Linked DNA regions of Homo sapiens: region 2 is linked to region 1. The links are contacts of gene promoters, found by promoter capture Hi-C in human tissues and cell types (Jung and others, 2019). All regions are on one chromosome and are shown on one strand. The core of a region is centred on a gene start or on the middle of the fragment in contact, and the rest is flanking DNA. Distances in the headings are between cores, read along the strand shown.

What was found. The method cuts DNA at HindIII sites, captures the fragments that hold promoters and counts their contacts. A contact is called where the count stands out against the background at its distance.
Region 2: a contact is called between a fragment that was not itself captured here and the fragment with the promoter of RS1 in region 1, in 1 of the 25 tissues and cell types used here (pancreas).

The regions. Positions count from the first base shown.
Region 1 is chrX:18,669,675-18,673,923 of GRCh38, reverse strand. RS1 (retinoschisin 1) reads left to right here and starts at 1,816. Exons shown (of 6, transcript NM_000330.4): 1 at 1,816-1,907. The coding sequence starts at 1,856. The HindIII fragment of the contact is 16,600 bases long and covers 1-4,249 here.
Region 2 is chrX:19,000,923-19,005,171 of GRCh38, reverse strand. ADGRG2 (adhesion G protein-coupled receptor G2) reads left to right here. Exons shown (of 29, transcript NM_001079858.3): 23 at 293-414; 24 at 2,058-2,326. The region is part of intron 2 of LOC101928415 (a long non-coding RNA gene); the gene reads right to left. Among named protein-coding and RNA genes, the nearest start is that of PHKA2, 19 kb to the right of the region's middle. The HindIII fragment of the contact is 4,254 bases long and covers 6-4,249 here.

The DNA.
Region 1 (4,249 bases), core at 567-3,066:
TGTCGTGATCTCAGCTCACTGCAACCTCTGCCTCCCGGGTTCACACCATTCTCCTGCCTCAGCCTCCCGAGTAGCTGGGACTACAGGCGCCTGCCACCTCGCCCGGCTAATTTTTTGTATTTTTAGTTGAGACGGGGTTTCACCGTGTTAGCCAGGATGGTCTCGATCTCCTGACCTCGTGATCCGCCCGCCTCGGCCTCCCAAAGTGCTAGGATTACAGGCTTGAGCCACCGTGCCCGGCCTTTTTTAAAACCACCTTAACCATTTTTTTTTTTTTTTGAGACAGAGTCTGGCTCTGTCACCCAGGCTGGAGTGCAGTGGTACAATCTCGGCTCACTGAAACCTCGGCCTCCTGGGTTCAAGCGATTCTCCTGCCTCAGCCTCCCGAGTAGCTGAGATTATAGGTGCACGCCACCACGCCCGACTAATTTTTGTATTTTTGGTAGAGACGAGGTTTCGCCATGTTGCCCAGGCTGGTCTCGAACTCCTGACCTCAAGTGATCTGCCTGCCTTGGCCTCCCAAAGTGCTGGGATTACAGGTGTGAGCCACCACCTCCAGCCCACCATAATCATTTTTAAGTGTACAGTTCAGTAGTGTTAAGTATATTCACATTGTTGTGAAACAGATCTCGGGAACTTTTTCATCTTGCAAAACTCAACTCTATACCTATTAAACAACTCCCCTTTTCCTCCCATCAACTTTATTCTGAATGGTGATGTAAAAATAATAGCTAATTATGTCTAGCACTGTGCTAAGTATTTTATACATATGATCTCTTGTAAGCCTCAAAATAACTCTCGAAAGTAGGCATTATTATCATCATCTTACAGATGAGAAAGTTTAGGCGCAGAGATATTAATAACTTGCCCTGAGGTCACAATGTAACAAGTGCTAGTGCTGCGATTTGGCACCCAGTCTGGGTTGGCAGTCTGTGCTCTTAAACCTACCAGGCTGCACTCATCTCTTGATTTACTTAACCAGCCCCCTAACCTTGGCCATTTAGATTGTTTCCAATTTGTTGTTGTTAAAAGTAACACAGCAATGCACAGCTTTGTGTTAACTGTCCTCCCACCACCACCAAATTTAGCATTTTCCTGAGTGAATAGGTGTGCACATGATGCCTAGTTGCTTTCAAAGAGGGGAATCCATGACATTTTCATACAATTCGAGAATGTTAGTGCTTATGTGGCAGGAAATTGTTCAAGGTCACCCCCTAAAAAATGATGGCGAAGAAAGGACGAAAACCTGAGACTTCTGGTTGTAGTTCTCTCCCTCCATTGCTTCCCTTACATTAAGATAGAATGAACAGTATGGGCCGGGCGCAGTGGCTGACGCCTGTAATCCCAGCACTTTGGGAGGCCGAGGTGGGTGGATCACCTGAGGTCAGGAGTCCGAGACCAGCCTGACTGACATGACGAAACCCCATCTCTACTAAAAATACAAAAATTAGCTGGGCGTGGTGGCGTGAGCCTATAATCCCAGCTACTCGGAAGGCTGAGGCAGGAGACTAGATTGAACCCGGGAGGCAGAGGTTGCAGTGAGCCGAGATGGCGCCATTGCACTCCAGCCTGGGTGACAAGAGCGAAACTCCATCTCAAAAAAAAAAAAAAAAAAAAAAAAAAGAACGAAAAGTATCTTCCTCGCGAACTGAATCTCAGTTGATGCTAGTATCTTCCATGAGACTTCCTTGTTGAGGCAGGTAACTCTGTGGGTTAACTTGATGGGGCTCAGCCAAAGACCTAAGAACTAAATGGATTAAGATGCTTAATGAGGCCAGGGCTCAACTTAATCCCCTGCTCCTGGGCCAGCTCTCCAGTTCAGTAAGGTAGAGCTTTGGCCGAGGACGAGGGGAAGATGTCACGCAAGATAGAAGGCTTTTTGTTATTACTTCTCTTTGGCTATGAAGGTATGTGCTATTCAACCATTGACATTCATTGCATACTTAATACATAATTTAATTAATATCGTTGATAAATAGGAATATAGCCTGAATAATATAAATATTATTAATTAGCAACACGTTAATTAACTAACATGTGTTATTAATGAACAACAGTTGTCTTTGTGTGGATGGCTTTCCAGTTCTGTGAGGAGCCTTCTAAAGTTCAAAGGATGCTTAAAATCCAACAGAAAACAGGATGGGTCTCAGAAATCTATAAAATAGCCATAAGTTGCAACAATTAATGAGAAAGTATGGCATATTCTGGAAAACTTTTAGGAGTCAAAGTGGGAGTGATTGTAGAATTTAATATTCCAAACCGGAATGCTATTGACGGTGGAGGACGATGCTATTAATAATTCTGTTGGGACGACAGGTGTAACCCAGGACCATCCAGGGCAAATTGGGGTGTAAGGTCAACCTAGTTTAAATATGGATTAACGTAACATACCCAGTACCACTGGAATCTAATAAAAAACATAATCCAACTGAGAGTCAGGAAACCTCGGAGACTCAGTACACTCACTCATTTTAAAATTTCTAAATATGACCCTAGCAGAAGTGATATGCTTCAATTAGGAAAAAATAAGGGCAAATCTGTAAAATGTCATCCAGTTCCAATTCCCTCTCAATCTTTGAAATAATATTCTTTCATGCCTCTCTCAATTCTCAAGTACCCATCTGCTCAGAATTTCTCCTCAGGTTCATCCAGATGTTAGAAATTGGTTGCCTGTCTTCTTTGTGGACATCGTGTATTTGTGTGTTATAGAAAATAAATTAAAAAGCAGGGAGAAGGAGGTCTCTGTGCTCTGCAAATGACCTGGTAGACAGACACAGCGAAACTCACACAAGTAGAATCAGAATTCTTGGTTTCACGGCTCACTGTAGCCTCAACCTCCCAGGCTCAAGCCATCCTCCTGCCTCAGCCTCCCTAGTAGCTGGGACTACAGGCACGCACCACCACATCCGGCTAATTTATTGTATTTCTTGTAGAGAGGGGTTTTCACCATGTTTCCCAGGCTGATGACTTTTGTTACTTAGTCACATTTCTCAGTATTTGGAAAGACTGGTGACAATATAATTCCAAGGTCATTCTGCAAACCCCAAGGTATATTTCTAAGTAGGGATCATGTAAACCAGTTGTCTGTTAGGATTTTTTCCCCTTGCAATTAATAGTCTGCAACTTGTCCCAGTAACTCTGACTACTTTAAGATGCTTTGGGGTTTTGTTGTTTTTCCTTTTACTCCTTGCCCCCTCCTCTTTCCTCAGCAAGAAAATCTAAGCAGACTCTTTCAAGGCTTAGATCTAAATACTCCTGGTTGTCAGACACTCCCAGGGCTCACTCTCGGATTTCTCTTCTTTGTGATTGGCATGGAGATTCATTCATTCATTCCTTGGTCCCTTCTTTTAAGAGCTCATCCCTGACTATCTGCTAGGGGGCAAACATTGTGTATGACGGCGGGGCGCGGTGGCTCATGACTGTAATCCCAGCACTTTGGGAGGCTGAGGCGGGTCTATCACCTGAGGTCAGGAGTTTGAGACCAGCCTGCCCAACCTGGTGAAACCCCGTCTCTACAAAAATACAAAAAGTATCTGGGCATGATGGCAGGTGCCTCTAATCCCAGCTACTCGGGGGAGGCTGAAGCGGGAGAATCGTCTGATTGCTGGAGAGGGAGGTTGCAGTGAGCTGAGATCATGCCATTGCACTCCAGCCTGGGTGACTGAGCGAGACTCAGTCTCAAAAAAAAAAAAAAAAAAAAGGACTTGACATGCAGGGCATCCTTGTTTCTTCCACAGTGCTGAGTCTAACAACCCTGTTCTGTGACCTCCCCACCCCCGCGATGCGAAGAAGTCCTAGAAATGTTTACCAAAGCATTTTAAAATTAGACCTGCCCAGTTAGTGGATATCAGCAATAAAAGACAGGCTGTCAGGAGGCATGAAGGATAGCACTCTTTCGTGTTCTAAAGTTTACCAATCTTTGTGCATGGCTGGGGAGCTCCAGAAATGTCCACGAAGAGCAGAGAACATCGTCTCTCCAGGTGCCCTGCAACGTGGGCCAGTGGGAAGGTTTGGGGAGCTTAAATTATCTTACTTGCTTAACGCAGGCCTTTAACAGCACTTGAAAGGAAAGCAGCCAGCCAAAAATAGCCAGTGTGGCTTGGCAACCTACTGTGTGCCCTACCCTGGGCCAGAGGGATGCTCCAGGGGACAGAGGACACAATCACTGAACTTAATCAGCATATTATCCAGATGGAGATGCATAAGGCCCATAGACATGGGAAAGATGCATCCCATTGTACAGCTGGGA
Region 2 (4,249 bases), core at 883-3,382, 330 kb before region 1:
GTTCCTTTCCATTGCACTATAATGCAGTGATCAAGTATGTGGGCTTTGGAGTGTGCCAGACCTGAATTTGAATCTTGGCTTCTCCACTTTCTATCTGTGTGTCCTTGAGCAAGTTACTTAACCTCTCTGTGTCTGTCTCTGTTTCCTTATCTTTACCTGATAGTAATAATTGTGCCTACCTCATAGGTTTGTTGAATAGACTATGAATGGATCCCTAGAATACTTGATACATCATAAGTCTTGTATTTATTTAAAAATATTTGATTATTAAAAGCAATATTTCATTTTCCAGGACCTATCTAGGACATCTGTGCTGCCTGCTCAAATGATGGCTCTGACGTTCATTACATATATTGGTTGTGGGCTTTCATCAATTTTTCTGTCAGTGACTCTTGTAACCTACATAGCTTTTGAGTGAGTATCCACAACCGGAAATTTGGATTTAGGACTCAGCACTCACCTCCATTGCCAACATTTATTAACTAAGCCCTTTCCTCGGCCTGCCTTACCCTGTACACCCAGCTAGTGGAGCATCCATGTATCAACTTTATGGGACTTGTTGGTTTATATGCTTGTGTCCTCACACTAGTCTGTGGACTCCCTGAAGGCAGGGGTTGTGTCAGAATCATCTTGGTGCCCCAGAATGACACCCAGTACCTGATAGACATAAAGTGTGAAATGAATGAGGGATGCAGGCCCCAAAACCCAGAGACTTACCATCTGAAATAGACCACAGCACCATGTACAGCATAAGAACTATGTTTAATAAATTACATTTCTAAATTATACTGAGCAAACACAAAAGATTAAATACATTAACTGGTGTGGGGATGGAGAGAAATAAGGATGTAAAAGCTTTACTGAAAAAAATAGATATTCAGTGAGTGTAGCTCTGCAGCAAGAATGCCATTCTAAAAAACAGCCTTTCCTTCTTGGCTTACCAGACAGGTCCCTTTGGTTGCTTTTTGGGGGTAATTCCAACAAATTCTAATGGAAAAGAAGGACATGGGCATTTTTATTGCATTAACGAATCGAAACAATATGTAGGTTCTTGGATTTAGATTTTGGACACTGATCAGGAAATGTAAAAATTTATTTTCAGTGCCAAAGTTAGGGTCTAGCTGTGACTACGGATCTTCTAGTGAGCCTTTGGAAATATTATTAGTGAGACTAAATAACCAGAAGGCCAGCCATTACTCAGAATGATTTCATCGGATCTAATTTTGCATGCATAAACATGAACATGTCATCAATTAGCTGGCTTCTCCTATGCTATTACATTTAGCTGTAGTTTAAACTCTTCTTTCCATGATCTCATTTTACCTAATAACATACAATAATATGGGAATCTTGGTTAAATTTTGAAGATCTGAATATAGCAGACTCCATGAGAAGCAGCACCAATGCTTCCGAAAGTAGTCTGGGAGAAATAGGGCGAGTGCTTAGTAGAGTCTACTACAAACTATTTAAAAGTATGCGTCAACAGTCAGCATGTAAAAGGTCCCACAGAAATACAGACACAAATTCTCCTTATGGTTATCACAGATGATTCTGTTTAGATTTTTCCTTTGTTGTTGTTGGTTTTAAGCTCCCCCCCACCCCATATACACATATACTCAAACAGAGGAAATTTATGCATATAGACATTTACCAAAGAATAAAAATAAATTGCTTAAAACTCAAAGAGCCTGACAGATATGCTTACATAAGGGTTGGTGCTAGGTGTGGTAACTCATGCCTGTAATCCCAACACTTTGGGAAGCCAGGGCAGCAGGATTGCTTGAGCCCAGGAGTTTGAGGCCAGCCTAGGCAACATGGCGAAACCGTGTCTCTACAAAAAAAATAAGGGTGTGGTAGAGAGCGCCTGTAGTCCCAGCCACTCAGGAGACTGAGGTGGGAAGATCGCTTGAGCCCAGGAGGCAGAGGTTGCAGTGACCTGAGATCACGCTACTGCACTCCAGCCTGGGTGACAGAGCCAGACCTTATCTTAAACCAAAAAAAAGTTGGAGGGTTGGCAGAGTAGAATGCTCATTCTTGTTCTCATCCTTTCCTTTTAGAAAGATCCGGAGGGATTACCCTTCCAAAATCCTCATCCAGCTGTGTGCTGCTCTGCTTCTGCTGAACCTGGTCTTCCTCCTGGACTCGTGGATTGCTCTGTATAAGATGCAAGGCCTCTGCATCTCAGTGGCTGTATTTCTTCATTATTTTCTCTTGGTCTCATTCACATGGATGGGCCTAGAAGCATTCCATATGTACCTGGCCCTTGTCAAAGTATTTAATACTTACATCCGAAAATACATCCTTAAATTCTGCATTGTCGGTTGGGGTATGTATAAGCTTGCCTGCATGTTGCCTGGACTTTCTCTGCCTTTTCTCTAGTGTTTTGATTTTTGAGCAGGTGGAAACGATGAAGCAGATCACATTCAGCAAGTTTCTAAAACAGCTTTATACTCTTACATGTGCACTGCCCGAAGAGCAACTTTGTCAAGTCTCCTTCTAGGACACCTGTTTATTTCTTTGGATTTGTTATGAATATGGAATTCCTCAAGGTTGAACCATGAATCCTCTTTGTATCTCCAGGAACTAGAATTTGGGGCTGGCACAGAAGGTGCTCAATATATTGAAAACATTAGCTTGGGGTGGTAATATATTGAAAACATTAGCTTGGTGGTAAAGAGCCCAAACTCTCAGTCCCTGAGCTCCCAGCCAGCCTCATTCTACTTTGTACCTCCCAGATATCAGACACGTATGACAGTATGCTAAGAAGGGCAGAGTGAGAGAATGTACATATAAAACCCATTGTAACTTCACTGCCACGTGGGCATGACATTTCAGATTGTGCAGCCTATTGGTGGCAGGTCGCAAGGCCTTAGGCTCCCCAAATATGTTGAAGATTTCTTCATTCAATTTCCCACCCAATGCAGGAGCCTCTTCAACCCTCAACTCCACCTGACTTATCCTTGACTAAAGATAATCTAACTTCTGCTTGAATACTTCTATTACTGGGGAGTTCATGACCTTACAAGGCAGCCAATAACCATTTTATAAAGCTCTACAGTTCTGATTTTCCATTAAGTTCAGTTGGCTCCCTGGTGGCACTTACCAGTGGTTTTGCTCAGGCAGAAAACAGTAAGTTGATACCTCTTCTGCCAGAGAGTCCTTTAGATAATCTACAAGTAATATATAACAGTGTGTATAATCCCCTGTTTTTCACACAAGTGACCCCATGCAAGATAAGCCAGTGAGGTGAGCCAGGCAGTCATCCCAAATGTAGGTGAAGAAACTGGCTCCAAGTGATGATGTGATATCCCCCCAATTCACAAAGCTAGAAAACAGCAAGCCTGGCTCTCCGTCTCCTTATATGCAGCCTTCTGCCATCCCCCCAACCAGACTGCCTCTATTTTCAGGCTAAATATTCCTACACATCAAGATTGAAAGCACACCACCACCCTTGCCACCCTGCCTTCTATCTTATGTCACTATGTCTTTGTGAAGAACAACAGAACAACACCCTTTCCCTGTTTGTCCCAGAAACATAAGTCAACGCTCCAGATACTGGGCACGGATTCTGTCTTCTTTAGAGAAGGCTGAAAGTCAGATTCCTTTCTTAAGTATGAGGCCCCCACCCCCAATGTTTTATTTTTAACAAAGTGTCTCACTTAGAAAATTATCATATGTCAGGGTCACCAGAAGGTACAAGCGCAAAGGCATTAAATGAACTATTAGATTTGATTTTACCAGGCACTGCAACTGGTCTGTGACAAGGAATTGTTTGTTCTTTACCAGAGCCTTGAGATAGGACGTCTGCTGGTCAGTGTGCAGAGTGTGGGGCGGTGGCATGGGGCTGGCGGGTGATGGTGTGCAGTGGTGAATAGGATTCTTTCCCCACCAAAAGCCATTTTAAACTTGGGGGACCCTTCTCATGGTACCTTCTCTGAAGGGAAGTGTCCGTGGGCTCTCAACAGAGCCAGCATAGTAGCAGTCACCACCCCCTGGATCAGCCAGGACAGAACCCTCCATCCTTCACTGGGTCTCAAAGTCTTCAAATTGAGGACTTTTGGTTTCATAATGAAAGATTTGCCAGGAGTTGCTGACTCTTAAATATACATTCCAGACATGTATAAGTTAAAGGCACAACGCTGGGTGCAGTGGCTCATGCCTGTAATCCCAGCACTTTGGGAGGCCGAGGTGGGCGGATCACCTGAGGTCAGGAGTTCGAGACCAGCCTAGCCAACATGGTGAAACCCCG